Regions from separate parts of the Homo sapiens genome. Here all the other regions are linked to region 7. The links are contacts of gene promoters, found by promoter capture Hi-C in blood cells and fetal thymus (Javierre and others, 2016). All regions are on one chromosome and are shown on one strand. Each heading gives the region's core, a stretch centred on a gene start or on the middle of the fragment in contact. The rest is flanking DNA. Distances are from core to core; before and after follow the strand shown. Region 1 overlaps LOC105373404 (a long non-coding RNA gene). Region 2 holds the start of CMPK2 (cytidine/uridine monophosphate kinase 2). Region 3 overlaps RNF144A (ring finger protein 144A). Region 4 overlaps LOC105373404 (a long non-coding RNA gene). Region 5 overlaps SH3YL1 (SH3 and SYLF domain containing 1). Region 6 overlaps RSAD2 (radical S-adenosyl methionine domain containing 2). Region 7 holds the start of ADI1 (acireductone dioxygenase 1).

Region 1 (4,133 bases), core at 372-2,871, 3.3 Mb after region 7:
TTAGAGCAAGATGTTCTGCTGGAGTATGAATGCCTAGCTCATAATTTCTACTCACTAATAAAAATCTTGACAAATATCTCATATTGAATAGAGCACTGTGTTGTTATGATTTGGAAATGTCAATCTCCATTGAATGCATTTTACACCAGGAAGATCCCTGGAGTCTTATTCTTTGTAGCAGGATGAGCGTAATGAAGCCAGCCAGACTATGTCAGGAACAGGACATCCTAATGCATCATGAAGAGTGGATGGCCTCGCTGTAGCCTCTACTTCCCCTTCAGCATTGCTCTCTAGAGGGGCTGCATTGGTAGTAGCATCCTGCAGAAAAGTCAGCTCATCTAGCTGCACACGAACCAACCCGATACTCTTGCACATTAACTCAAGCCTGTAATTCCACGTTGAATTTCTCATGGCATTAGGAAAGCACTCAGGCATCTCTCCACGGAATTACAACCCTATTATGTACAATTGAGTATACATTACTCCTTATTTTCATGTCAATAGCTTGGATAAGGCTATTACTAAAGCACTGGAGTATATAAGAGTTACATACTTAGGGGCAGAAAAAGCTGAACTGGGAAATTAAGATGCAAAATATGAGTGAGTAAAAGCTATATTTTTGTGACACATTTATATCTCAACTGGAGTAATTAGACAAATATGAAATGAGACAAATTGTCATTTTATTTATTTCCATTTTTACTATCATCTAGTCAGCTTTTAATCTGTATTCACCTGCACAAAGTATGCATTTCAGTGGTCTTATCTCTGGGAAAGGCAGGCAAACTGATGCTGCCTCCTACAATATCTAGTTTCCTTTCAAGAAAGCAGAGGGGTTATTGTTTGCCAATTAAAAATAAAAGAACAAGCCTTAGGGGCCAGACTGGGAATAAAGTGGAGTTTTTCCCCAAAATTTTAACACTTTTTTAAAAGTGACAATAATAATAACTGCCAGTTACTGAACTATTTGGGATAATATTTCAGAAAATGAAATATGGAGCAAGGCTGGCAGTTAAAATAGAGTCAATAAGGTTCAAATCCCGCTCTGTCATTAATTATATCTCTCTTAGACTCACTTCTTCATCTGTCAAATGGGGTTTGACATGGGGTTTTTAAAGAATTAAATGAGACGATCTATATGAAAAACTTAACCCACTATATGGCACATAAGCACTTAAAGCTTGTTATTTTCAATTATTACCGAATTATTAATTTAGGCAAATCATAGTCTTTTTGAACCTCTATTTTCTTACCCACAAAATGGGAATAATAATACCTATGCCACAGTATTATTATGAGGACAGCAAATGGCAATGGTGGCAGTTGCTACTGTTAAGTGGGTTGAGAAGCCGGGCAGGGTGGCTCATACCTGTAATCCCAGCACTTTGGGATGCTGAAGCAGGAGGAATGCTTGAGTCTAGAAGTTTAAGACCAGCCGGGGAAACATGATGAGACCTCCATTTCTACAAAAAAATATAGAAATTAGCCAGGTGTGGTGGTGCGTTCCTATAGTCCCAGCTACTTGGGAGGCTGAGGCACGAGAATCACTTGAGCCTGGGAGGCAGAGGCTGCAGTGACTTGAGGTCACACCACTGCACTCCAGCCTGGGTGACAGAGAGAGATCCTGTCAAAAAAGAAAGAGACCCTGTCAAAAAAGAAAGAAAGAAACCATCCTGGCCAACATGGTGAAACCCCGTCTCTACTAAAAATACAAAAGTTAGCTGGTTGTGGTGGCGGGCACATGTAGTCCTGGCTACTCAGGAGGCTGAGGCAGGAGAATCACTTGAACCTGGGAGGCGGATGTTGCAGTGAGCTGAGATTGTGCCACTGCACTCCACCCTGGGCAACACAGTGAGGCTCTGAGGAAGAAAAAAAAAAAAAGCAAGAAAGCAAGCAAGAAAGAAAGAAAGAAAAAAGAAAGAAAGGGAGATAAGCGAAGGGAAGGGAAGAGAAAGAGAGGGGAGGTGAAGGAAGGAAAGAAAGAAAGGAAGGAAAGAAAGAAAGAGAGAGCGAAGAGAAAAAAAAAACTGAAGAAGAAAAAAAGTGGGTGGAGAGCTTAAGGCAAGCTTCCAGGAGGATGGAAGACTCTGGCGACTTCTTGAAGAAAGAGAAAGATACTGGGGTTCACCAAACAAGAGAGTGTGCATCCTGAAGAGTGCTCCAGATGCCTTCTCCAGCTATGATGACAGCACCTGAGGGTGGAAGGGAGGCCCTAGAAAGGGACCAGAGAGAACCGGGATGCCAAAATCATGGGACAGAGGGTGTGTCTGCAGCACAGCTTGGCAGGAGCAAAGAGATACAGTCAGAGAGGACTTGACCCACACTGGCCCACAGGTGGCAGCCTAGGGAGACCCGCTGCCCATGGAGAGGGAGCCGTCAGATGATCAAGTTTAAGTTGATGGCTGAAGGAAGGCAATTACTGGAAGCAAAGTGAGCCAGTCAGCTATCCTGGAGATTCTGCAAATAAAGTGCAGGGTGAGATGAGGACAACTGCCTCTGCGATTTGTCACAGCTGCCCTGGAAGCTCCTTCTGCTACATCATCCCAGTGCTTCTCATTTGGTGGCATTGGTGACACTTTAGTCCATAACCACCATTGTCCATGGAGTCATTGATCCATAGGTTATCCACAGAGCTATGTCCTCCTTGCTGGATAAATGCACAAACTGAAGAAACACATTGAGTCACTGCTAAGGGAATGCCTCAGCTGAGGTCACCAACACAGCATGGTGTGGTGAGAAGGACCAGCCGGCAGTGCCAGGCCAAGCATGTAGGCCAGGAGTGTTGCATGAGGTCAGGAGCCAGGGCAGTGGTGTGGATGGTCCTGCTATGGTTTCCAGAATAAAATGAGATTTTGTTCTTTGATTTTCCACAGTCTGAAATCAATTCTTCAGAACTTTTAGGGCCGAGGCCAAAATGAAAGATGAGATAAAATTACCATAGGCTTCAATTCTGAGTCACAGCTTCACCACCAAACTGGAAAACTGGTGGCTACGAGCATCACTGGAGATATCTCTGAAAGCCAAGAGCACACTTCCAGCTCTGCTGGTCAGTTGCTGCCTACCAAGGGCTGCACTGGGCTCATTAACATCCTGCTCAGAAATGCCACTTGGCTGCAAAGGGAGAAATTGCATCCTCAGAAAATACCTTATGAAAGAGAAGGTTTCTGCTTCTCTCCATTTCTCTGCTAACAGAGACAGTCTTGAAAGGCTACAGGGAGGAGGAAGGAGGAAAGACGGAAACACAGACAGGAAGAGAGACCGTGTTGTATTGACACACGTTTCCAGCAAAATTACCTGGTAATTTACCCTGGCAGTTAAAGAAAAGCATCTGTTTACTGTTGCCACATCAAAATTTCCCCATAAGATTTGTCCGAATAATTGTGGGAGATGAAAACAAGGATATACAGTGGAGGCCTCCATCAGCCGTCAGTGCTGTGCCATGTCTCACCCACTTTTACATCCTGTAATTAAATCAGCGAGCCATTCAGACTGTCTCTGTTTCTAAATTACACGAAATGAGGATCCTTCCAATCACGCCTCACATTCAATTTGTGCTGTCACTCTCTGACTTGAGGAATGGTGAAAGAAAAAATAAAGTCCATCTGGGAATTTTATTTAACCAGGGAATGCCAACCAATACAAGAGATACGGAGCTATAAACAAGTGTTTTAAATAGGGTCTCCCTAGTCTCAAGTCTTGCATAGATGAATGCAGGAAGAAAAGATTGAGGATCTGCACTTTGGAGCACATATTTTTAAAGAATGGACTCCTATTTCATTTTCCACATGGCAAGTATGTTATCCTCAGTAACAGACTAAGGTCTTTGCATGAATTATTAAAAATCCAGGGCAGAAAACTCTAGATAACTGCTTCAATTTGTCGATAGAGATGCAACTTGTGACCAGACCAAGAAGATTAGAGACAAAAATCAAGCAAAAAGAGATTCTATAGCACAGCTCTTAAAAACAACAGGCCCGTTGGCTACTTCAAACACTAACTCTCCCACCTATTAATTGCATCACCTTAAGCAAGCTTCTAAACTCTGCTCTGTGACGCAATTCCCTAGCCTGTGAAGTAGCACTGGTGTGGTCACTTATAAACCCTCCCTCCTGAGAGCATGACAAACTCCAGTA
Region 2 (3,933 bases), core at 1,372-3,871, 3.3 Mb after region 7:
TTCATATTGAAGGTCTTATTCATCTCTGCATCCCAGGGCCTGCCTAGCACAGGGCCTGCCACACAGTAGGGGCACACATAAGGCTCCATATAAAGTTTGGTTTTGCAGGAAGTATTTCTGTTTCTGCAACTAATCAGTTAGTGTCATTGCCTATAACTAAAAGGTAATATTATCTTACCCGTGGCATCCAGTCCTTCGATGGCAACAACCTGGAACTTTCCTTTCTGGATCTGTTTTGGGCACTGGTCGACCAGGTCAAGCACTGCCCGGGCTTCAGGAATAAAGGAGGTACACTGTAAAACAACGTCTATCCATCAGCAATGAAGCCAGGGGGCTTTTGCAGAAATCACACCTAAATTGCTGAGCACAATATTGCCGCATGCTAATAAGGCCTAAGTTATACTGAGCACTGTGCCAGGCCATGGGAATTCAGAGTATTTCGATGCTAGGATGGACTGGAGTGTTTTATTTTATATTGAGCAGCCGAGGCTCGAAACAGCTGTCCCTGTCTGGATCGCTTGGTGGCCTGCAGCCTTCACTGAGCAGCTTTGAGAAAGGCCAGGCAAGGCACATCATCACAATGTCCTGTGACACCGCAACCATGGAACTACAGGCCCGCTGGGAACACTGTCTCACAAGAATGGGAAATCAGCTGCACAGTGGGCTGGAGAGAGCAGTCTTCATCTGCAGCATGTCCTCTCCTAGCCATTCAGGGGGCTGAGATAAACAGCCAAGCACTGCAATCATGAAGCTGGCAGAGCAGCGTCCCCCTGGGAATTCCCAGTTCCTCAATGTGCATTATCTCACTGCACGCTCACAGCATCTCAGAGCGAGGCTCAGACACTTATGTGCTTGCTCTGAGCATGGCAATCTTCTAAGTGCTTTACAAGTATTCAGTTGCCAATCTCTGTGAACTGGGGTGGGGGGGTGCTATTATTATTCCCACCATATGAATTAAGGAAACTGAGGCAGAGAGTTGAAGAAACTTGCTCAAAGTGACACAGCTAATAAATGCCAGAGTTTAAATTTAAATACACGTGGTTGACCTTGCGCTCTTAACTGCTCCACAACGCTGTCCCGTAAGCTTGGAAAATATTCCCAAGATCCATGGGGGCATCCTCAGGGCTCATCTGTGTCACAGGAGGACATCTGCCTAGCCTGCGATCAGAAAGAATTTTCAGTCTCTTTCTGTGGGTACCTGCTGTGAGTCAGATGTTTCCTTAATCAGGACAACATCGCAAGATGGGAATTGTACATGTCAAAGGGCAAAACTTAGAGTAGTTGAGTAACCTGCACAAGGTTCATGGCCAGTCGGTAGGTAAACACTATTTAAGTCTAAATTTCTTAAACCCCCTAAACTCATGCATTTTCTTTTTCACCCCAAGATCCTTGAATGGTGATCATCAGCAAATAAAATTACTTCCCAGCTGACATTATTTTCCCTCACTCCCGGCAGCCCCTTTACTCCCTCTGTACTGCTGTTGGGATGCTTTTACAGCAAGCATCGCGTGGCTTGGTGTAGGTCTATGTTCCACGTCAGGTTGGAAGATCCTTGCAAACAAGAATCTTAAAAGAGTTGCCTGGCATACAGGACACCTTCCCTACCTGATTTGTGAACGGAAATAAACAAACCACCCAGGCAAGAACCGGCTCTACAGACCAGCCTCTTGGTCCAGTTCTCTGGTCTGAAGGGTTCAGATGCCACGCTGGGAGCTGGAAGCGGACAGAACTCTTACCTCCTCCAAAACGGCCCGGGCGGCTTCCCGGTCCGGGAAGACCACGGAACTGGGCAAGTCTGGCACCACCGGGTGCAGCGGGGGCTCCGGGACGGGCACGACCTGTGCGCAGCCCACCTGCAGCCGCCTGCCGTCTTGCACCTCCCAGAGGCGCTGCCACAGCTGGCCGCGCGGGTCGGCCTCGAACTCGCCCAAGTGCGGGCGTGGTGCCTCCTGACAGGCGCCCAGCAGCTCGAGCAGCGCTTGCCGGGTGTCAGGGTCATCCAGGGGGTCGCGCAGCAGGAAGCCTTGCTGTGCGCCGCCGGCCTGGCCGCCCGGGCAGTAGCAGAGCAGCCTGAGCAGCTGGCACCGCTGGAAGGGGCCGCGGCGCAGCTGGTGCAGCAGGCGCTGGTGCAGCCGCGCCGCCCGGACCCGGGCCCCGCAGCCGGCGTCCGGGGTCACGGGCACGCACAGCGAGTAGCTGCGCTCCGGGGGCCCCAGCAGCGCCGCCAGGCGGGGGTCGGGGGCGTCTGCGTCGCCGGGGGCGTCGGCGCCTAGGGCGAAGTGAGCCAGGGTGCAGTCGGGAAGCTCCAGGACGAAGCGGCGCGGCGGAGCCATGGCCCCAGCGCAGACCCCGCGCCGCCCGAGCAGCGGCCCCGACAGTGGCCCGCGCAGGAGCCGGCGGGCGAAGGCCATGGGCGCCTCAGCGACGCCGCCCTCGGCCCCGCCTCGGAAACGAAACCTGGCGGGAGCCAGGCGCCGGCGGGAAACGAAACCCGGAGGGAGCCAGGCGCCAGCGGGAAACGAAAGCGAAGCGTTGCGGGGAAACGAAAGCCGGAGGCCCAGGCGGGGCAGGAGCCCTGGGGCTGGGGCGCCCTTCCGGCCTCTCCTCCTCGCCGCGAGATGTGCGCGATAAACGGCCGGCGCTCGGGAGCAGACGCTTGGCCCCGGGGCCCCAGGTGCGCGGCTCCGCGGGCCTGCGCGGTCCCCAGGCGCCGGCTCCCGGGGCTGACACCGAATGAGGCCCCGCGCCGTCGGCCCCAAGGTAGCTCCGTGTGCGTTCTGCGGGTGGCTGGCGGCCCCGACCCTGGTTTGAGTTCCTCCTCTGCGGCTTATGCCGGGTGCATGGAGGGGGGCGGGGGTGCACGCGCGAGGGACAGAGAAGTCCCTTCCCGGTGTAACGGGCTCTTCAACGCCCACTTGCAGGCGCACTACTGCCCTTGGATGACTGACCAGGCCCTGCAGACCATGGGCTCCCTCCCCGACCTCAACTCCTAGCTCTGACCACGCGTCCCCGCCCCTCTAATCCTGCAGAGCTGCTTTCCTGCGGGAACAGGGCGCAGTTCTGGCTCTTCCCTCTCCTGTATCTTATCTCACCTGTGCACTCACTCACCTGTGCACACACTCACCTTTGCACACACTCACCTGTGCACAAGCTTTTCCCTCTTCTTGGAATTGCCCTCTCCCTTTTGCTGACTCTCCAACTGGGAAGTGTCGCCCAGATTGGCACCTCGAAATCGCCTTTCTTCCACCAAATTGAAGTTTCCTGCACTAAGGTGAAGTGTGTCAGGATAGCACCCTCTGCCTGCCACAGTCCAGCATCAGCACTGTTGCTGCCTAACAGTGTAACTGCCTAACAGTGTAACAGTGTTTGCGCAGTTATTTGGATATTTTATTCTGTGTTTACTCATTAACTGATGCCTTTTAAAAATGATGTCAAGCAAACCAAAAACAAACAAAAAGATAATATTCTCCAGGGAAACTCTCTCAAAAAAATAGAATTGAGACGAAGATTGAAAACATTAGATGAGCTGAAAGCAGTTTTTTTTTTATGTCTTAATAGTATTGGACTTAAACTTGGGATTATATTTAATTCTGAAAAAAAAAGTCTTAACAAACGTGAAATATAGATAGGTGGTTGGAGTGTGGGTTAATAGGCTAAGAAGAAAGAAGAATTAGGAGTTTAAAATTTTTTAGCTCTTTGAGAATAGAATAGTTTTTATTCTTTCTCAGGAATTTCACTTTTGGACATTTAGCATGTACCGGTGGTTTCACGTGTATGTAGTATATGGAAGTAAGAGTCTTCTAGTTACTCCCTTTTCTTCTCTAAGACAGTACTGCATCCTCAAGCCTGCTTGACCTTTTCCCTATGCCATCCACCTCTCTGGATGTATTAGTCTATCCTGGCTGCCATAACAAAATACCACGGACTGGGCCG
Region 3 (4,084 bases), core at 891-3,390, 3.5 Mb after region 7:
ATATGGGGACTTCTAAGTCAAGAATCTGGGGTTTGGGTCAAACTCAAATCCCAAATTTTATCTATCGGAAAAGATAAATGAGTGTGTGAGGTTTACTTTTAGTTAATCTCATTGAATTTTACTTGTTTTTTCTGTCCATTCAAGGAATGAAAAAAGAAAATGAGTGCATAGAAGCCGGAAGTAGGACGGTAGTTTCCCGGGGTCTGCAGGGAATGGGGAGATGTAGGTCAAAGGGTATGAAGTTGCAGTTATACAGGTTGAATAAGTTCTAGAGACCTAATGTACAGCATGATAATTATAGTTAATCATACTGTTTTGTATACTTGAAATTTTCTGTGAGGATAGATCTTAAGTATTCTCACCACACACACACAAATTGGTAACTCTGTGAGATGATGGATATTTAATTAGCTTGATGGATTTATGATGTATACACGTATACAAAAAATGAATATCAAAACTTCACATTGTTCACTTGAAGTATAAAATGGACAGTCTTTATCAATTATAACTGAAAAAAGCTGAAAAATAAAACACAATATTTATCATTTTAAAAAGTACAGAAAAGAAAAATGAAAAACTGTCTTCAAAAAAAAAAAAGTGTCTTCTGAATTTAACTGCTGTTGTATGTGGATGGTGTAGACGGCTTCCCTGTGGGTTTTTCGAATGCCTGGATTATAATCTGTCACTCGAACAGTCTCTCCCACCCTGTACACTGATGCATTCATCTTTCTTGCATAGCTTTCAGACTGTATTTCATTTGCACCTCATGATGTCCTTGGTATGTAGGCACAGCAAATATTTTATCTTTGTTTTATAGATAAGGAGAGGGAGCTTTACAAACATTTACATCTGTGTCTTCTGTTTCTTGTTTATGCTAGATTCAGCCTTTCTTAAGGGCAGAAGGATTTCTGGCCCATTCTGTATCCACCTAGCACCTAGTTTAGTGCAGGACCCAGAAGAGCTAATCAGTAAAATCTCACAGATTGAAATGAAGTGTATTGATCTCAATACTGTAGTTGCCATCCAAGAAATGTGCCTCATTAAAGCACCAGGAAGACAGCTCCAACCTAGAGGAAAGGAAGTTGCTTTTGACATTGTTCTGAGATGGAGAAGGATAGGAGGGAGATTGATCTCCATCCTGTTAACACCGTGAATGGGGCTTATTGTCATTTCTAGATGAGTTAGGATGGTAGAACCCGTCAAGATGGATTCAATAACTAGCCTTATGCAAAATCACCTCCTCTTACTTGAAAGGACATCTTCCCAACTGATCGAATGGCTCCCCCTCTGCCAAAAATGCCTTGTGGGGGGTGGGGGCGGGGGGCATTTGCAGTCTCTGCAGTCGCCTGCCTGCTGTCAGAGGCCATAGCTTGTGTTCTTACCCTTGAAATAGTTCATTCTCCCTGGCTTTTTTGCTGAGGCCTTCATTTTTGTTATTGTTGTCTTAGTTTTCTATTTCTAGAGAATTGTAGTAAAAACAAATAAGCCACTCAAATTGAGACCAAAAGCCTAACCAAAGTCAGTGGATGTGAAGGAAGAAGCTAGCACTGTGTTCTCCGAAAGAGGCTGCTGGAAACACCAAAAAAACAGTGACACTGTGGTGATTTTTTTTCACAACTATTTACCAAAATTTAAAATGTTGAAAACAGTTCCACCTCTGTCCGTAGCTCACTGTAGCGTGAAGAGAAGGAAGCACTTGTGTGTTGAAGATTCAGAAGGGAGGAGGTGTCGGGGTGCCCTGGTCGCTTTGGTGGCGCCTTCCCCTCTGTGTGGGCTGCAGGTCGCCCCAAGCTGGGGGCAGGCCATGGGGAGGAGCCCTGAGTCTGTGGCCAGAGGAGTTGCAACTGTCCTTTTTTGGGGGGTGCAGACATGGGAAGGAAGAAAATTGTCTAAGACTGAAAGGAGGCACTCTTAAAAAAACAGTTATTATGAAATTACAGTTGAGTGCTGAAGTAACTTTATCTCAAGGAGTCCGGGGCTAGAGGGAAAAGCATGGCATTTGGAGTCAGGTGTCCTGGAGCTGAAATGCCAGCTCTATTTCTGCCCTGAGCAGGCCTCATTTACCCCATCTGTATAATGGAGATAAAAATAGTTTACCTCAAAGTTCAAGTGGAAGAACATGTGTGAAGTCATGTGGTAGGCAGTCATCAGGCCTAGTTCTTTCTCATTTTGCTTCTAAGTTTGGGTTTAGAACTGCAGGAATAAAAACAGAGTTTGGGCAGCTCTCCCTAAATGTCTTCTGAAGAACACTTATCTCAAGAGATGGACTCAGAAATGATTTGTGTGGTTCAGTGGGTTTGCTAATGACGGACACCGCATCCTTGTCCACATCCCCCACTACCAAGGCATCCCAGGTGCCCAAGAGCAGGAGGAATGTACCAAGACATCCACAGCCAGAGACATACTGTCACTTACCTGTGTTCCTTCAATGTATTTCAGTGTGAAAGGGACTGGCCTAGCAATTGCTAATATGGCACTCCCCTGAAGCAGGTTCTCCGGGGCTTTCCTTGCTTGCAGGGTGCCTGGTGGATTCTTCGTGATTCTCTGGAGGTCACAAGAGCCTGTGCACATGTTCCAGGTGCTGTGCTAGGCCTTGGGAGCTTGGGGATGATGAGAGCTACCAGATATCTTAAATTGTTCCATTTGGATTAGTGTGAAGTCTAACTTTAGAAGGTCAAATGTAAAGCTGAACATTTGTGTGCAAAATAGTGACATGTAAGTCTAACCAACAAGTTCTGTGCTGGAGCACTGGCCAGAGAGAAAGGATTGTGGACACGTATTTTGAAATCAGGCTGCCGTTACCCACCATGAGGGCCAATCCCGTGTTCGTTTTGTCAATCAGAGATGCAACCTGTGTGTAGAGTGACCTGGGAAATTCCTTATGGGCTGAAATCTAAAATGTAGAAGATGTTTTAACTTAAAATGGGACATATTAGAGCTATTTAGGTCTGTCTTATACTTGTGGCATTTGACAGTTACACTGAGAATGTTAATATGGTGTTACTGCTGGCAGAGTTGTTTCCATTCAGACAGCTGCTAGAAGTAGAGATGATACTCTTATCCCAAAGGTGGGAACATGTGAAGCTCAAAGGGAGGTGCTGTGGTCCCATCCCAAGACACAGGTCCCTAGTTATCTGGGAAGGTAGAAATGTCTACATTTCTATTAGTTCTTAAAAAAAACAGTCTAATGAAAGTTATTTTTTAATGATGACAAGATTGAATAAGCCAAATAAAACATACATATACACATATATTTTATATATATATTGCGTTTATATATATATATATAATTTTTTTTTGCTTTGAGTTAGAATTAAATCTATTTTTATACCAGCTATTTATTGGCAATTAGGAATTTTGCCATTAGAACCCAGATGACAGGATTTTGATATATAACCGTAGAAAGTTGTAACTTAAAAATGTAACATTTGGCCAGGCACAGTGGCTCATGTCTGTAATCCTAGCACTTTGGGAGGCTGAGGCGGGTGGATCACCTGAGGTCAGGAGTTCGAGACCAGCCTGGCCAACATGTTGAAACCCCGTCTCTACTAAAAATACAAAAAGTATCTGGGCGTGGTGGCGTGTGCCTGTAATCCCAGCTACTCAGGAGGCTGAGGCAGGAGAATCACTTGAACCCGGGAGGTGGAGGTTGCAGTGAGCTGAGATCGCGCCATTGCACTCCAGCCTGGGCAACAAAAGTGAAACTCCATCTCAATAAATAAATAAACAAACAAAAGTGAAACTCCATCTCAATAAATAAAATAAAATAAAATTAAAATAAATAAAAAAATAAAAGTGTAACTTTTTGCCCAGGCACAGTGTCTCCTGCCTGTAATCCCAGCATTTTGGGAGGCCGAGGTGGGAGGACTGTTTGAGCTCAGGAGTTTGAGACAATCCTGGGCAACATAGTGAGACCTTGTCTCTACAAAAAATAAAAAAATTAGCTGGGCGTGGTGACAGACACCTGTGGCCCCAGCTACTCAGGAAGCTGAAGCAGGAAGACTGCTTGAGCCCAGGAGGTCGAGGCCGCAGTGAGCCATGATTACACCACTGCACTCCAGCCTGGGCAGCAGAGCAAGAC
Region 4 (4,070 bases), core at 1,245-3,744, 3.3 Mb after region 7:
GTTAGTGTCTGTGTATGTGTGTGGTATTGTGTGTTTATGTGTGTGGTGTATGTGTGTGCATGTTTGTGTGTGGCATGTGTTGGTGTGTGGCATTTGTGTGTTTATATGTGTGTTGTGTGTATGCATGTCTGTGTGTATATGTGTGGTGTCTGTGTGTTTCTGTGTGTGGAATATGTGTATGCATGTTTGTGTGTTGCATGGTGTGTGTATGTATGTGTGTGATATCTCTGTGTTTGTGTGTGTGGTGTCTGTGTATTCATTTTGTGTGTGTGGTGTGCACGTGTGTGGCATGCGTGTGTTTAAGTGTGTGATATATACATACACACGTGTGTGTTTATGTGTGTGGTGTATGTGTATTCATTCTGTGTGTGTGGTGTGCATGTGTGTGGCATATGTGTGTGTACGTGTGTGGTATATACATACACACATTTATGGATGGGGGTGTGTGTGTGTTGTGTGGGATATAAGTCTGATGAGGTAAAGAAGCTCCAGGAGATTCTCTTTGGTTGAATCTCATGCCATGAGACTTGGCTTCTGGCCACGATGGAGTGAGAAGCCTGGACTGACCTTTCTGCCTGGAGCAAGGGAACACCGTGTAGAACCGGCACGGCGCATCTTCCAGACGGCAGTGCCCAGGCTGCTTGGCAGGCACCCCTGCAGGAGGGGTCAGGGAGGTGGGCACCCAGCGGTCCCTCAGCACCCGTCCCGTGTGGCACAGTCCAGCCGCCTCCCAGGGCCGAGGAGGGGAGACGCAGGCTCCTGGGCTGCTCCCACCCAGGCCCCTGGAACAGCGCATCTTCTGTGACCGTGGTGAAGGAAAATCTCAGCCTCTGCTTCCCACCTCCTCAGCCCCTGCCTCAACAGGAAGCCCACAGCGCAAGAGACGCCATTCTAGGGCCAGGAAGGAAGAGCCTCAGACCCTGGAATTGCCATGTACAAACTAGACGTGTATTTATGGTGTGTCTGAATGTACAACAATTTCCTGTTTCGGAGAAAATAGTTCCTTCCTGGAAGGGCTGTTCTGTATTTGCACACTTTTCCCATGTGATTTTGGGGAAAAGTACCTGACTTTCTGTGAATAGACGCACTTTTTCTTACCGAAAATAATGATAGTTTCAATCTGGCTATAATCGTTCATATTCATGATTTTTTTCGGATGTAGAAATCAGCAGTTTTGCATTGTAAGACCTCACCCATCCACCACTCACCGTCCCCACACCCCTGGGAACAGGAGGAACCTCACAGAAGAAGAAGGTGGATTTTACTACCTACTTGCCACACCTCAATCTCTCTGTCTGTAAGCAGAGAGAATACGGTAATAATAATATTAATAATGATAATAATAATACCTTTCTCACAAGTTCGCAGGGAGGGATGAGTTCATGCACATAAAATGCTCAGCCCAGCACAGCTGAGCACACGATTCTCAGCACTATTACTTGCATTCTTGTCACTGAAAGGAAGAGGGAACGGAGTGTGACAGCGCAGGTTAGACCCCCGGCGCAGCCATCCACCTGCCACTTTGTCACAGGGACTCCACGACTAACTGCCGCCCTATTTTCCCATAAGCAGGCAATGGTGATGATAAAATCATTCTCAAAGCTTAGGGAGGCCAGGACCCAACCCAGGGCCGATCAACGCAAAGCCCTTGCTGCTTCCTATCCCATAAAACCCAATTATTTATGAATGTGAACCTAAAGCCGCATCCTAATTTAGAAGGCATGGAGATAACATGGCCAAGCAGCCGCCTCTCCAGGCAGCGAGATGACTAGGTAGGTCCCAGAGCCCTGAGCATGTCCCCTAGAAAACAACTCAAGACAAGTGCATTTGCATGCCTTCTTCTGTCTCTCTGAAATCACTCAGTTATAGTCACTCAGTGTGTGCTCACAAACACTGAGTCTCCCCTACACGTGATGCATTTCAGTACCAGGGCAATTCGAGTGAGAAACATGGCCATAGCCCCCAGCCTCTTGGACTATCAGAACTCTTAGGAAGTACAAGGATTGAAATATGTGGTCTAACAGCAGAGCGGTATTTTTCTCATTGTACCACCTTGTTGTAAAAAATTGCTGGAGCCTGAAGGAAACCACCTATGGGAAGGGTGTGAGTCAATGGTTCCCCACTTCTGCAGAGTTCCTTCTGAGCAGCTCAGAGCCCACCCCGTGTGGACACATCTCTTACCAAGATGACCTTCCCCTAGCGGGAAACGGAGGAATGAGCAGGCGGCACTCACAGTGCCAATTACAGCAAGGGGATTTGCATAGGAGACCTAACTGCCTGTTTCAATTAGGAGCAGCAACTCCCTCCTTCTTCCTTCCCAAGGAGCCAGGAACACCAGGCATGTGGGTTTGGATTTGTCTGGGAGGAGGCATGACTGTGCGCACCAGAGTGAAAGCCTCCCCACTCACACTGCTCACCTGGAGAGAGGCTCAGGGATCCTGGCAGGCGCAATGTTTGAGAAATGCCCAGGCGAAGAAGATGAATGCTTCCTTTCACCGGGCCCTCCCTGGCTTTAACTCTTCTTAGTCCTGTCTCTGGGAGACCCTGGCAGCCCCTCGCAGCTGTGACCTCTCTAAACTGTCAGCCTCAGATTAACTGATACTTCATCAATTTTGCCTGAACTGCATTTGCAACCCGGTCTCAAGAGGACAGCCAAGTGCATCAACGCTGGGCATTAACCCCCCAGAACCAGATTGCCTTCAAAACGAGGGGGACTTTTCCAATATTCTCACAGCGGCCCGGGCAACAAGCCTAGGGGGACTTTGGCCAGAGGGGAGAGAAGGGGCCTCTGATTATTCCTTGTAAATTTTTCATGAGGACATCTGCCCATACTCTGCGCCTCCTCCAGAGCTGCCCTCTCTCTCTCTCTCCCTTCCTCTGTCTCTGTGTTCAGGCCTCTGACAAGGCATGAAAAACGAGAATGATTGGGCCTCAGTCCCCATTAGCCAGGAAGTGACTGATGGGAGGATGGGCGTGTGTGGTGACTTCAGGCTTGGGAGGGGCCGGGGCTGCCGGGTTTTGAAACAAAAGACCAGTCAGGAATGGATGAGTCCTAGGTGGATCTGCAGATGGAGGCTGTGCTGTGAGTAGGTGGCTAAGGTGCACAGATGGTCATGGCTGATAGGCCAGCCTGGCCCGGGCTCCTGGTTCTGCAGACCCCAGCTCTGGGCTGGAAAATCGGTCCCCGCCTCCCCCATCTTCCCCAAGATTGTCCCCGTCCTTCCTCGGGCAGACCTTCACCGTGGAGCAGAAAGCTGCCTACAATATCGCCCAAATCAAAGCCAAGAAGAATTAGAGTGTAGGGACAGGGGAACAGGGAAGTGCTTTTTTAATTTAAATAATAAAAAATAAAAAATAGTCATTCTTTTGGAAATACTAGCAGCTTACAAGCTTTAAAATCCTCTTTCCCAACAGTTTAAATCAAAAGCCAGCAGCCCTTTCTCATGGATGCATCAAATCATGCAGATGTCCTTTTTGTGCCCCCTTTAAGGTGACATGTGCTTCAATTTATTTTTAATCTTCTAAGTGATGTCATCAGGACGCCGCCCGGGTGACACGGGAGGTGGCTGCTCCTGGGGCTGTGGGTCTGGGCAGTGCAAGCTCCACGCGCACTGACCCCATGGGCTCAACCCAGAGTCCACAGTCAGAAACCGGCCCCGGGCGGCAGGAGACGCTGCAGAGGGAGATTCCATAGAAGAGGTAAATTCATTAAGAAACTCATCACCGAGCACACCTTAGAAATCCCACCTTTTGTGCTCAACGTGGCCGGGTCCCCGGGGACGCCGTTGGCAGCTCTCCATGGAGCAACAGTGCCACCCAGTGGTCAGTCCTCGCGATGCCGCCGCCCGCTCCCCTGTGCGGTCCTCAGCGGCCTGGGAGAAGACAGAGAAAATGAGTTGGTACAAACGCTTGCCCCGAATATCACATCTTTAAATAGTTACCCACATGAAAGAAGGCCTGCAACTGATTCAAAACCACCTCGATGAAAAAAATCTGAGCACACCCATCAAAGGCACTGCGCACAGAACTCAGGAATGTTTTCTGCTGTTTGGAGTTTTCTTCTCCCCTCC
Region 5 (4,118 bases), core at 1,464-3,963, 3.3 Mb before region 7:
TCCCCTTTTTTGGTCTATAAATTTGTTCTGACCACGAGGCATCCCTGGAGTCTCTCTGAATCTGCTGTGATTCTGGGGGCTGCCCGACTTGCATATCATTCATTGCTCAATTAAACTCCTTAAAATTTAATTTGGCTTAAGTTTTTAACAACATTCAAGTCTTTAATCCATCTTGAATTGTTTTTTTGCATATGGTATAAGGAAGGGGTCCTGTTTCAGTCTTCTGTGTATGGCTGGCCAGGTATTCCAGCACCATTTATTGAATATGGAGTCCTTTCCCCATTGCTTATTTTTGTTGACTTTGTCAAATATCAGATGATTGTAGCTGTGTAGCATGAATTCTGGGCTCTCGATTCTGTTCATTGTTCTATGAGTCTGTTTTTGTACCATTACCATGCTGTTTTCATTACTGTAGCTTTGTAGTATAGTTTGAAGTCGGGTAGCATGATTCCTCCAGCTGTTCTTTTTGCTTAGGATTGCCTTGGCTATTTGGGCTCTTTCTTGGTTCCATATGAATTTTAAAATAGTTTTGTTTTCTAATTCTGTGAAGAATGATATTGGTAGTATAATAGGAATAGTATTGAATCTATAAATTGCTCTAGGCAGTATGGCAATTTTAATAATGTTGATTCTTCCTATCCTTGAACAAGGAATGTTTTTCCATGTTTGTGCCATCTCTGATTTCTTTCAGCAGTGCTTTGTAATTCTTGTTGTAGAGATCTTTCACCTCCTTGGTTAGCTGTATTCTTAGGTATTTTATTCTTTTTGTGTAAAATAGGTGTTTTAAATTGTATAATCTGCCATTTCTCGATCTGTTTTTGACTGATTCTTCTTCCAGCTATGGGTTATGTTTTCCTGTTTTTACTCCTTTCTAGTAAAACAGGATTGTAGATATTACCATGTTGAGTGCCTAGATTTCATTGCTTCCCTTAAAAGTGTTAACACTTGTGTTAGCAGGCAGTGAGTTACTTGTAGATCAGCTTGATCACTTGTTGGCTTGTTGTTGTGTTCTGTTTGTGTGTCTAGAGTAGCCTTTAGAACTATTTTATCCATCAAGGTGTGTCCCTTCTGGGCTCTCTCCTGGGTGCCCTGGTTGTTTAATAAGCTGTCTCCATTGTGGCTGTTTCGAATGGCTGTCCCCAGCCTGATGCAAGCACTGTGAATAGTTCACCTCAAAGCTTCATGGCAGTTGTTCTTGCCTGCTTTGCAAATTTCACCCTACACAGCTAGCACTTAATATTCAGCAGAAGGCTCAGGGGGATCCCTCTGCAGATTTCTGGAGCTCTTTCTCTCAGCCGTCCCTCATTGCTAGTAACATGCTCTGCAAATTCCAGTTACCTCAGCCTCTTCAGACTCAATTTCTGCCTCTTCTTTTAAGCAGGAGCCTGGGCTCTGGGTGCCCCCTCCTTGTCCTGCAGTTTAGGAAGTGCTCCAGGCAGAAAACGGTCACTAATGGAGTTCACCTCCTGTTCCCCTTATCTTGTGGATCTCAGACATGTCCACCATGTGCAAAAAGTGCTCTACACACAGCTGTCCAGTTTCCTAGCTGTTTACCATGTGTGAGTAGCAGGAGCCATTTCGCTGCCCTGGCCAGTAGCTCTCAGTGCATTTTCCATTTGTTCTTTTATGATGAGCAATGCTGACCACATTTCACTCTCTCTATCAAAGGTTTCTCATGCACCTTGTTATTTACAGGGGGTTTCTCTCTGTTTCTTATTAATTTATACATTAAAAATTAATATTTTTTTGGAATATGAGTTAAAAACATTGACTCTCTGTTACTTGTCTTTTGAATTTGCTTTTTTTTCTGTTTTTTCTTAATGAAATCAAATCTGTCTTCTATCTTACAAGGGTCTTTTAATAAAACACAGTAATTTTGAAGTTCAAATGGGAAAATAAACAAGCAAGAAGAGCTAGGAAAAAATATGTAATAGGAGAACAATGACAGCCCAGCCTTGACAGAACCTGTGACACATTACAAAGCCTCAATAATTAATACATAATAGCAGATGCAAATATAGGAGAAAAATCAATTCACAAAGAAGAAAATTCAGAAATTAACCCAAATATATTTACAAATTTAGTATATAATAAAAATGACACCTCAATTCTATGTTGAAATGATGTATTGCATACTAGATAATGTTCATTTGGGGAGAAAAACAAAAATTCATTCACAGCTTTGTGTTACAGAAAGATAAACTCCAAATTCATTGAAGATTTAGAGTGTCAAATATCAAATTATAAAAGAACCAGGAATTATAGAATTTTTTTTCAATTTCATAGTGGAAAAGACCCAAGTATGGCAACAAAATTTCTATATTTCTATATTTTTACATGATCAGCAATTATTTGTACAACGTACAAATACATTGTAAAATACAGGAAAAAGTACAGATATGAAAATATGAAGGATAAAAAGCATCTATAACATTAATACTCACCAATACTACTGTCTGCATTTTGATGTATGCTTCAATTGATTCCTATTGCGAAACATGTAGACTGATTCCACTTTTAGCTTTTATAGCCATTACTATCAGGTGGTAATTATCTTGGGAGAGATGCTCTAGATGCTCAATATGTTTTAATTACATTTATACATATATCTAGATGCTGGATACATTTGAATTAGTTCACTGGAGTGGAAACTTGTTCTTTCTGCTGCTGAATATTTCATCTACTTTATTTCAGAGGCAGCACAACTTGTCTGCTTACATTGATGCTGCAGCCATAGTATCTGGAGTGGATTGGGTGACCCGAGGCTGCTGTATCAGGACGACATTCCTTTTGGTGCCACAGCAGGGCTTTATAACCAAAGCTGGTCCAATACCAGCATCTGATGGGGGACTTGTATAGGAGCTGCCAGAATAACTTTTTCCAAGGCACTTCTGTTTCCACTTGCTGTGGGATTTTTGTCTCCACAAGGGGAGAGTCTGAGAGCAAAGCCTTCATAGGGGAACCTGGCAGAAGGTGGAGAGAGCACCTGGGCTCTGCAAAGCCAGACTGAAGTCACAAGCCGCTCTGGACTTCTTCGTCAAATGGACCAGCAACATCTTTTTCTGTTAAAGCAATTTAGACTAGATTTTCTGATACATGCAACTGAAGCACTGTAAATAATACATGAATCTTATCCCCTCAGAAGACTTTCTACTTTGAACTCTCTCAACCAAGCAGTATTAGAGCAAATAAGCAAATTCCTCAGTTGAGAGTTAATCTTGCAAACATCCTGCTGTAGGGAAAGGTCATGGCCTGATCTGTAAACACGGGAAGAGAGCCATTGGACTTGGGAATCAGATGCAGCCTCACACGGCTGCAGACCGCAAGACTCATCCTAGACACAGCTTATGTCACTGTGATCCAGCTGTTGACAAGGCTGGTCACAGTGAGGACATCTTCAGTGTGTCAGCTGAACTACAGAAAATGTTACAGATTCTAATCAACTTCTGATAAAATCATGCGTGGTCATAGTTACATGCAGTGAATTTCTCTGTCAGAACAAAAAGAATATGCAAATAAAAATTTAGACATAAGCCTCAAATCCCATCCTCAGCATCAAATGATGGCTCACCCATTTTTCCTCTGCTGTACCATAAGGCATATAGAGCATGACCTGATCAGAGTGCTGATGTCCCATTCTATCATACTGATGAAGACACAGGTCATTACTAATGAAGCCTCTTAAACCTCACATCATGGTTAGCATCTGCACTCTCATAAACGTCTTAAGTCCCTTGAATCAGGCAAAATCTCTATAAATATTTAAGTTTTTTCTAAAAAAAGAGTGGCTGCCAAACCTCAAGCTAAGAAACTTTCAAATAAAGTTTTCTTTAAAACAAAAGTTAAAATGTTTTAAATTTTCATAGTAACACATTTTTTTTTTAAATTAGAAGGTCTTATAAAATACCGGAAAGACAATTTTTACTTTGGAAACCTCAAAAGCATAAATCAGCTTAAGATCTGGAAATAATTTTAGGTATTGATCGCAGTTCTATAAACTCAATGCTAGAGTCACTGGGGACAAACAGGGACATGAGAATCCTACTCGGAGTAAATTGCCACCTGAGGTGACAAAGCTGACTACGGTTTCCAATCTAGTTGTACACGGAGGGTCAGGA
Region 6 (3,823 bases), core at 1,324-3,823, 3.4 Mb after region 7:
TTTTTTTTTTTAATGTCTGGTTCCTCAAAGAAATTGCATTCCAAGGTTGAATTTTACCCTCCTGTGTGTCTTCATGCCTGACAGGATGTCTAGAAAGTAATAGAGGCTTAAGAAATGTTTTAGATAAATGAATGAATGCATGAGTGAGTGAATAAGGAGATATGTCGAGGGAAATTACGACTTTCATTCAGAAAGCCAGGGTTTGAGTTTCTGCTCTAACATTTACTAGATTTGTCAAGACATTTAGCTTTTCTGAGTATCAGTTCCATGATCTTTAAAATTATCTTTAGATAATAATGATAACTGATAAACCAATCTCAAAAGTTGGTACAAGGCACAAACAAGTGAATGTTCATGTATTTTTGTCATAAAAGATAAATTATTATTAATAGTTATAATTAATACTTTTATATAATAACCTCTCAGTTTAAGTAAGTAAAACAAAAGTTAATTGAAATGCTTACATGATAGTGTAGGTTGTATTTTCCTGTAAGAGAGATTTCTAGATAATGGAGGAAAACTATTTTTTTGGTTGTAAGAATTAAAGAAAGAGGAAAGAAACACAAAAGGTGGCTCCACAGTCAAGGACAGGTTTATTTTAGAGAAAAAAAACCTGAGAGGGGCTTCTGGCTGAGTTAAGTCAGAGCCCACTCTCTTACAGACTAAGAGTTTTAAGGATTTGGCGTGGGAGGGTTTATTAGAGACTTGGACTGCTTCTGTTTCTCTTTGTTGTGCTTATCTGGGAGGGAGAGTTGTGTGTCTGTTCCCGTACATCTTCCTGCAGCTGCAGGCATACCCACCCTGAATCTGCTTTTAGCTTCCCTATCTTAGAACACTAAAGAGAAACTAATGTGCTTATTTAGGCCCACTGTTTTACTGGGACCCATTGTATGACAGTGAAGTTTGGCAGTTACCTAAAAGACTTCCCCTCAACCTCCCTCTGTGCTCAAGCTGTCTTGTCTGTGTTTTACTGTCTGCTCTTTCTGGCTGCTTGTGGTTAGAAGATAAGTGATTTCCTTGAAATGCATGAGGCTAGAAAGGGAGCTGGAACTTAAAGTGGTGGTGTTTGTCTGAGATGATGGTGTTCTTGATCTGTCAGTGGTAATTAAAGGTTTAAATTCACATTGAAATTTAAATTTTAATATATATTTTTATATATTATATTTAAAATTAAAATTTACTATTCTGGCTAAAGATGCTCCTAAAATATATTATTTACTTTCCTGGCTTTTAAACTGTTTTGAAATTCTATTCAGAAAGACTGAATAGAATTAAAAATAATGAGCATCAGATCTGGGCTGTAATATGATCACTCATGTATGTTAACACTATTGTAAATAAATTACTCCTTGTCTAAGATATTAATTATGCCTCTAAATTCTATTCCTTCCCTTTTGTTATTCTTCCATCCCTTCTAAATATACTCCTCAAAATTGTTAGCAGTTTTGTGCCACTGGCCAGGACCCTGTCTTACTTTCTCCAGTTTATCTGCCACTATATCACATCACCACACTTCTTAGGTAATTATGTTTTGTTTTGTTTTCGGGTTATAATGAGTGTCACTCAAACTGCCTCCCAGCATGATGGATTATAAATAGGGAGGTGATATAATGCCTCACTGTCCAATCATAGAGACATCTGAGAGTGAAAGGGGGCACTAAAACTCACTCACAGATACTGTTTCATCTACCATAAACCAAAACTGTTCCAGGCACACCAGCCTGGAGGCTTCTCTACTTATAAAGACTCTAGGCTTTGGAGTCTAGGCATGTACCCTAGCTCTACTTTTCTCTAGCCTTATGATCTTCAGCAAGTGTTTAACCTTTCTTGGCTTCAATTCTTCCACTAAAAACCAGATAATAATTCCTTCCCCATGGGTTATTTAAGGGTTGAAAGCTTTAACCATATTACCTTGGGTGATGTATGGTGAGGCCAGATACAGATTAATAGAGACAAGAAAGAGGTTTGCACGGGTTCATTCTCCTAGAATGCAGGCAGGCAGGTGTATGACGCACAGGCCCATCCTTCTAGAATGCAGACTGGCAGGTGTATGTTGCAAAGGTCCATCTTCCTAGAATGCAGGCAGGCAAGTGTGTAACGCATAGATCCATCCTTCTAGAATGCAGGCAGGTGGGTGTATAACGCACAAGCCCATCCTCCTAGAACGCAGGCAGGCAGGTGTGTAATGCATAGACCCCATCCTCCTAAAATGCAGGCAGGTGGTTGTGTAATGCATAGACCCCATCCTCCTAAAATGCAGGCAGGTGGGTGTGTAACGCATAGACCCCATCCTCCTAAAATGCAGGCAGGCAGGTATGTAACACATGCAAGAGACATGTTTTCTTCTCTGAGAAAACAAAATGACCCCAGAGTAAAGACCAAGGATATTAGCAATTGGAGGTTTTCCTATGAATAAACCAGTTTACCTCTCTGTCTCTCTGTAGTGAAACCCTCTTTTGGACCAGCCCCTCCCTTCATCACAGAAATTCCATTCTGCTATTTTGTGCCATACTGAAATTTGAATGAACAAATAAAAACATCAAAAGAAGAGGCAGACACCAAAACAAATACACAGAGAGTATGTAGGAAGAAGAAAACGTCCAAAAAAATCTATAACTAGTAATTGCAGAGAGATAAGAGAAAGAATTGCATACATGAAACAAGAATAGAATGCCTGGAAAGGAATAGTCAGAATATGGAAGCATCTGGGGAATGAAAAATGGGGTTTCTAAAATTAAAATCTTAATAGAAAGACGAAAAGTTAAAGTCTTAACCAAAATGAGACCAAAAAATCAGGATAGACGTAGGAAGGAAGATGATGATAAGAAAATAGTGGTTAAATTTAGAAACTCCAATGTTCCAGTAATAGAAGTTCCAGAAAGATGAAAAAGTAAAAATTGAGACAAGGGGTGAATAAGCAAATAGTAAAAGAAGATTTTTCTTTATAACATAAAGAGCTATGATTTGAGATTGAGGCCTTCCAGGTGGCCAGACAGTGAATAGAGAGAGATTCCTAGGACACCCGGTCTTGAAATTCCAAAACATTAGGAAGAAAGGTTCTGGAGAGAGAAAAAGCCATGCACTTACAAAGGAGTACAAACGAGGGTGTTATCAGGCCTCTGAACAACAGCATTTAAAACTGAGTGAAAATGACTTCACCTAGAATGTGATACCTGGACAAACAATTGATCACCAATGCATTTTGAGGCATACAAGTCATCACTTTAATTCCTGCTTTACGTTTTTTTCAGGAAGCTTGTAAAGGGATTCTCCAAAATAAGGGAGTAGCCCAAGAGGGTGGGCGATGCGGAATCCAGGACAAGGAGTGGGGATGGGAAACGCAGAGTCAGGAGGAGTGTCATTCTCAGGCTGGCAGCTGGCCCGTGGACAGTCACGCCACATGGCAGGCATGTGGCTTTATGCTTTGCAAATCCTGGTGCTGCCTCATTGTACCCTTTGGTGTCTGAGCAAGTCTATTCATCTGTGTAACCAGTTCCCTGCATCCCTGTTTAGATCCCGAATTAAACATATGCTATTCCCATTGGGTGGGATTGGTGTTGGGAACTAGGGTTAGGGGAGGGGAAATTAATGAGAAAGTTTTATTTCTTTTTTTTACATTGAGAAAATACTACTTTTGCTATTAAAATAATAATGTATATTTGTGAAGTGGTAAAATTCATGTATCACCTTGCACAGGTATGGAGAAGATCAACTTTTCAGGTGGAGAGCCATTTCTTCAAGACCGGGGAGAATACCTGGGCAAGTTGGTGAGGTTCTGCAAAGTAGAGTTGCGGCTGCCCAGCGTGAGCATCGTGAGCAATGG
Region 7 (4,160 bases), core at 1,013-3,512:
AATCAGCTTTTCTACCTATTGTTCTGTTTCTTTGTTGCCGCCCTACAAAACCCACTGTTGTGCTATTACCCTATCGAGCTCTTATTCTATTTTGTAGAACGGAGGTTGCCCTATTCACAAATCAAGAATAAAAGCTAATTAGATCTTTAACTAAATTTGTTGTAATTTTGTCTTCCAACAGCACTGATCCAGAATGGATATTAAGAAAGCATATAGGCCGGGTGCGGTGGTTCGTGTCTATAATGCCAGCACTTTGGGAGGCCGAAGTGGGTGGATCACCTGAGGTCAGCAGTTCAAGATCAGCCTGACCAACATGGAGAAACCCTGTCTCTACTAAAAATACAAAATTAGCCCGGCATGGTGCTGTGCACCTTGTAATCCCAGCTACTCGGGAGGCTGACACATGAGAATGGCTTGAACTCGGGAAGATGAGGTTGCGGTGAGCCGAGATCATGCCACTGCACTCCAGCCTGGGCAAAAAGAGCAAAAAAAAAAAAGAAAGGAAGAATATAAAAACACACAGGACATTAAAACCACAGAGTAAACATGATTTAATTTTGATAGCCCTGACTCAGAGCAGAACTAGACGGTAGGAAAAACTATGTTTGAGCCCATGTAATAATCTAAAAGATGTCTATTAAAATAAATCTTATTTTATTCTTTGAATACATTAAGAAGCTGACCTGTAATCTCACTCTTGTTCTTGTTCTTAAAACCGTCAAATGCACAATGAAACTCCCCAAGTGTATTAATTTGAACCCTCTGGTTGTTTGGATTGTGGATAAACATAATAAGTCAAAATTTATTCTCCTCTCATTAATGGAAAACTATAAACCACTTGATTGCTTTGAAGAAGTACCCTCCAGCAAGGTAAGTGTTAAACCTTATCCTAGGAAAAGACAAATACTATGTAAACATTAACATGCATGCCCTGTTTCGCACTGGTATGCCAATTGTCACTTCCCTCTTCTGTTATTTAGGATAGAACAAGATGATATCCAAATAGATTATGCTGGAATATTCTATAATCCTTTCCCAAGGGAAAAAGTGTGGTGTCCAGGTAACCCTGTGTATTTCATTTAAATCACATGAATGAAGATTAGATCCAGTCACCCCTCAGCCTATCCCTGAGGCCTACCCTGGCCCTCTCTTTTGCAGTAAACCTTTGTTACTGCAAAACCATTTGCAAATAAACAAGGTGAGCGGATCTGGACTGGTGCTGTGCAAGCAACGGGACACCGGTGCAAAGCCTAGCCCCGCCTTGCAAAGCTAGCGTTACAGAGGCAGGGCTGACACCGGGCCCAGCCGGGACCCAAGCCAGCTCCACCGCCCACTGGAGACGCCCCCACCCCACCACCGAGCGCTACCCCCCGGGGATCCCCGACAGACCGCGGCAGGACCCCGCCTCGATCTGCTGGCGCCCGGTCCCTCCCCCAGGACACTTTCAAGCGGAGTCCCCCTTCCTCCGATAGAAGAAACCCCTGGGCCTTTGACCGAGGTTAGCCAGGCAGGCAGGGCGTCGGACAAGCCCAACGAGCCCACGAACTCGCAGCCCGCCTCCGGCGAATCTTGCAGCCCTGCCGGCCGACCCTTCAGGTCGCTGCCAATCCCGGAGCTGCGCGTGCGCAGCGAGTCCCGGCTGCGAGGCCCCTGACTCGCCAACTCTGCTGCTGAGCATGCGCAGCACACCCCAGGCAACAGAAACGGACCGCCGACCCCCACCAGCCCCGCTGCTGAGCATGCGCAGCCCACCCCAGGCGCCGGAAGCCGACCGCCAACCCCGTAAACTTCGCTGCTGAGCATGCGCAGCACACCACAGGCGCTGGGGGCTGACCGCCGACCCCTCAACGCCGCTGCTGAGCATGCGCAGCACACCCAGGCGCCGCGCAGGAGGCCCTGACCACCCAGCCCCACTGCTGAGCATGCGCAGCCCACCCCAGGCACCGGGAGCCGCCACGAACCCCCAAATCCCGCTGCTGAGCATGCGCAGCATGCCGCGGCTCCCAGGCCGCTGCCCGGCACCTGGAGGAGGCTGGGCTGTGCGCGGCGTTTGGGGGTCGGCGTCGCCCGCACGCTCTGCGAGGCTTGGGCTCGCGTACCTTCCAGTAGAGCACCCCGAGCCGCCGCAGCTGCTCCAGGCCCACTGGGCGGCCGGGGTCGGGGCGGTGGGGTTGCCGCGGGTCGCCCGGGGCGTCGTCCATATACCAGGCCTGCACCATGACGCGCAGTGCGGGTGCCGTGTTCGAACCCAGGGGCCGCGCTCGGAGCCCGTCGGCCGCGCTTTATCTTATAGGGAGGCGTGGACGCGCATGGGAGCCGGGATTGGGCGGCTGGTTGGAGGCAGGGCCGGCGCGGGGGAGGCCCCACGGCTCCGCTGTTTTCGGAAGCAAAGGCATTCAAGCCCCGACCCTGTCCTGGGCACCCTCGGACCTGCCTGAGGCCCGCGGCCCGGGGCCAGCCGTTCGCCAGACGCGCCGGGCAGGTGAAGCTCACCGTAGGCATCGCACGTGCCTTGTGTGTGCTGCCGCGGTCTCCCTGCACCTTCAGAGCAATCTTGTGAGGCAAACGACGTTAAACGTGTTTAGAGTATGGAAAGCAAATGCAAAAAAAAAAAAAAAAGAATAAGGATTTTGTTAAGCTCATGCAGTCCATATGGGCACAGTTGAGACTTCACAGCTCGGATCCCAGGTGAGACATTGTCCTCCACCTCCCCGCTCGCCAGACTTTTGCAGTGTCGGCATTCTGCAGTGCTACCCTGTACTTTTTAAACTTCCTCTTGTTTCCTCTTTTCATCGTTTCTCCCTTCCCCATACACTGTAATGTGCTAGTCTTAGAATAAAAACAAGCTTCCCCTATCCCATTCTGAATTTTTCAATGTAGCTAATAAAGTCCAGCCGCTTGACCATCCTAGATGTCTTTTCAAACCAACGAGTTGAAAAAGATCAGATTATCTCAGCCATTCCCTCAGTCTCTTTAACAAATAACGATAAAGCAGACAGGATTTAAATGAGACTGCTGTAAGAGCACAACCCCAATGCATGCAATTGACTCTTGAACTTCCAGAAATATTGCAAGAAAAATACACACTTATTTCATTTCTGTTCCCTTGCTCTAATGGCTTTGCAAATACATCCTCCTTAGAGAGCCTACCTCTCCACCTCTTCACTTGACCAGTTACTACTCATCCTTCAAGAACACACCTTAGACGCCATTGCCCATTTTTCTGCAGCACTCATGACAAACCTTCATGCAAGAATCTAATGGCAATCTCGCACCTCGCATTTTCTCCTTAAGCCACTGCAATAAGGCTTCGCTTCTCACCACTGGGGAACTGCTAATGACTGCCATATTGCCAGATCCAATCATGGCACTTCTGTTCTTACCAGCAACATTCGTCACAGTTGCCCACGCCCTTCTTGAAACATTTTCTCATTTTCCTTCATGAGGGCATCTTGGCTGCTCCTTCCCAGGCCCCTCCTAGCTCCTGCTCCTCTAACCACTGGTTAGTGGAGCGTTCCAGACTCTCCTCGTCCTGTTCCTATCCACTCACTCCAGGCGACTTTCCATGCTGTGCTGCCGGCTCCTGCAGCCACATCTCCAACCTGGACCTCATTCCAGAACCTCAGGCTTGAGTATCCAGTTGGTGTTGTCACATACATGGCTAATCAGTGTGTCAAACCTAACATGGCCAAAACAACTGATTCCCCACACACACCCCCAAACATGCTTCTCCCTAACCTTTCCCGTCTCAGTGAACGGCAGCACTGACTGCCCAGTGGCTTAATAAAAAAATCTAGGTGTACTCTCAGTTTTGCTTTTCCTCACCCTCAAGATCCAATCCAATCTATCAGCAAGTCATGTTGCTTTGACCTTCGAAACACACCGCAAATCCATTCACTTCTCTCCAGCCCAACTCTTTCTGCAGTCTTTTCTTGCCTGATGGAATTGACTACTGAAATTCCCCCTCCTCACACCGCTTCCATTTTTGCCCCAGTGCAATCCATTCTATGCACAGCACCCAGAGTGACCTTTTAAAAATAGGAGCCAGATGCCAGGCACTGTGGCTCACGCCTGTAATTCCAGCACTTCGGGAGCCCAAAGAGGGTAGATCACTTGACCAGCCGAGGCAACATGGTGAAACCCCGTCTCTACTAAAAGTA

Evidence for each region. Contacts are between HindIII fragments. The CHiCAGO score rates a contact against its expected background, and 5 or more counts as called.
Region 1: a contact is called between a fragment that was not itself captured here and the fragment with the promoter of ADI1 in region 7, in 2 of 17 cell types (M1 macrophages and M2 macrophages). The highest score is 9.1, in M1 macrophages.
Region 2: a contact is called between the fragment with the promoter of CMPK2 here and the fragment with the promoter of ADI1 in region 7, in 11 of 17 cell types (M0 macrophages, M2 macrophages, activated CD4 T cells and 8 more). The highest score is 15.0, in M0 macrophages.
Region 3: a contact is called between a fragment that was not itself captured here and the fragment with the promoter of ADI1 in region 7, in 1 of 17 cell types (M2 macrophages). The highest score is 6.1, in M2 macrophages.
Region 4: a fragment that was not itself captured here is called in contact with the fragment with the promoter of ADI1 in region 7 in 1 of 17 cell types (M2 macrophages); the score reaches 8.1 in M2 macrophages.
Region 5: a contact is called between a fragment that was not itself captured here and the fragment with the promoter of ADI1 in region 7, in 2 of 17 cell types (fetal thymus and monocytes). The highest score is 6.3, in fetal thymus.
Region 6: a contact is called between a fragment that was not itself captured here and the fragment with the promoter of ADI1 in region 7, in 3 of 17 cell types (M0 macrophages, erythroblasts and M2 macrophages). The highest score is 14.4, in M0 macrophages.

The regions. Positions count from the first base shown.
Region 1 is chr2:6,789,506-6,793,638 of GRCh38, forward strand. LOC105373404 (a long non-coding RNA gene) reads right to left here. Exons shown (of 4, transcript XR_922745.3): 3 at 1,370-1,463. Among named protein-coding and RNA genes, the nearest start is that of LINC00487, 21 kb to the left of the region's middle. The HindIII fragment of the contact is 886 bases long and covers 1,179-2,064 here.
Region 2 is chr2:6,863,286-6,867,218 of GRCh38, forward strand. CMPK2 (cytidine/uridine monophosphate kinase 2) reads right to left here and starts at 2,622. Exons shown (of 5, transcript NM_207315.4): 1 at 1,737-2,622; 2 at 179-293. The coding sequence starts at 2,411. It also overlaps a transcript of RSAD2 not described here. RefSeq lists silencers at 1,933-2,372, 2,613-2,882 and an enhancer at 2,393-2,612. The HindIII fragment of the contact is 2,067 bases long and covers 1,083-3,149 here.
Region 3 is chr2:6,997,585-7,001,668 of GRCh38, forward strand. All of the region lies in intron 3 of RNF144A (ring finger protein 144A), which reads left to right. Among named protein-coding and RNA genes, the nearest start is that of GRASLND, 81 kb to the left of the region's middle. The HindIII fragment of the contact is 4,724 bases long and covers 1-4,084 here.
Region 4 is chr2:6,769,512-6,773,581 of GRCh38, forward strand. LOC105373404 (a long non-coding RNA gene) reads right to left here. Exons shown (of 4, transcript XR_922745.3): 4 at 3,312-3,872. LINC00487 (long intergenic non-protein coding RNA 487) reads right to left here and starts at 800. Exons shown (of 6, transcript NR_038369.1): 1 at 568-800. RefSeq lists an enhancer at 3,656-4,070. The HindIII fragment of the contact is 1,788 bases long and covers 1,601-3,388 here.
Region 5 is chr2:257,641-261,758 of GRCh38, forward strand. The region is part of intron 1 of SH3YL1 (SH3 and SYLF domain containing 1); the gene reads right to left. Among named protein-coding and RNA genes, the nearest start is that of SH3YL1, 4.3 kb to the right of the region's middle. The HindIII fragment of the contact is 3,075 bases long and covers 1,177-4,118 here.
Region 6 is chr2:6,879,675-6,883,497 of GRCh38, forward strand. It overlaps RSAD2 (radical S-adenosyl methionine domain containing 2), which reads left to right. Exons shown (of 6, transcript NM_080657.5): 2 at 3,697-3,823. Among named protein-coding and RNA genes, the nearest start is that of RSAD2, 3.8 kb to the left of the region's middle. The HindIII fragment of the contact is 1,359 bases long and covers 1,895-3,253 here.
Region 7 is chr2:3,517,269-3,521,428 of GRCh38, forward strand. It overlaps ADI1 (acireductone dioxygenase 1), which reads right to left and starts at 2,263. Exons shown (of 4, transcript NM_018269.4): 1 at 2,100-2,263. The coding sequence starts at 2,219. It overlaps LOC124907725 (a long non-coding RNA gene), which reads left to right and starts at 2,278. Exons shown (of 2, transcript XR_007086195.1): 1 at 2,278-2,688. RefSeq lists silencers at 1,170-1,369, 1,850-1,909, 1,990-2,309, 2,380-2,509 and enhancers at 1,929-2,450, 2,451-2,971. The HindIII fragment of the contact is 6,500 bases long and covers 1-2,844 here.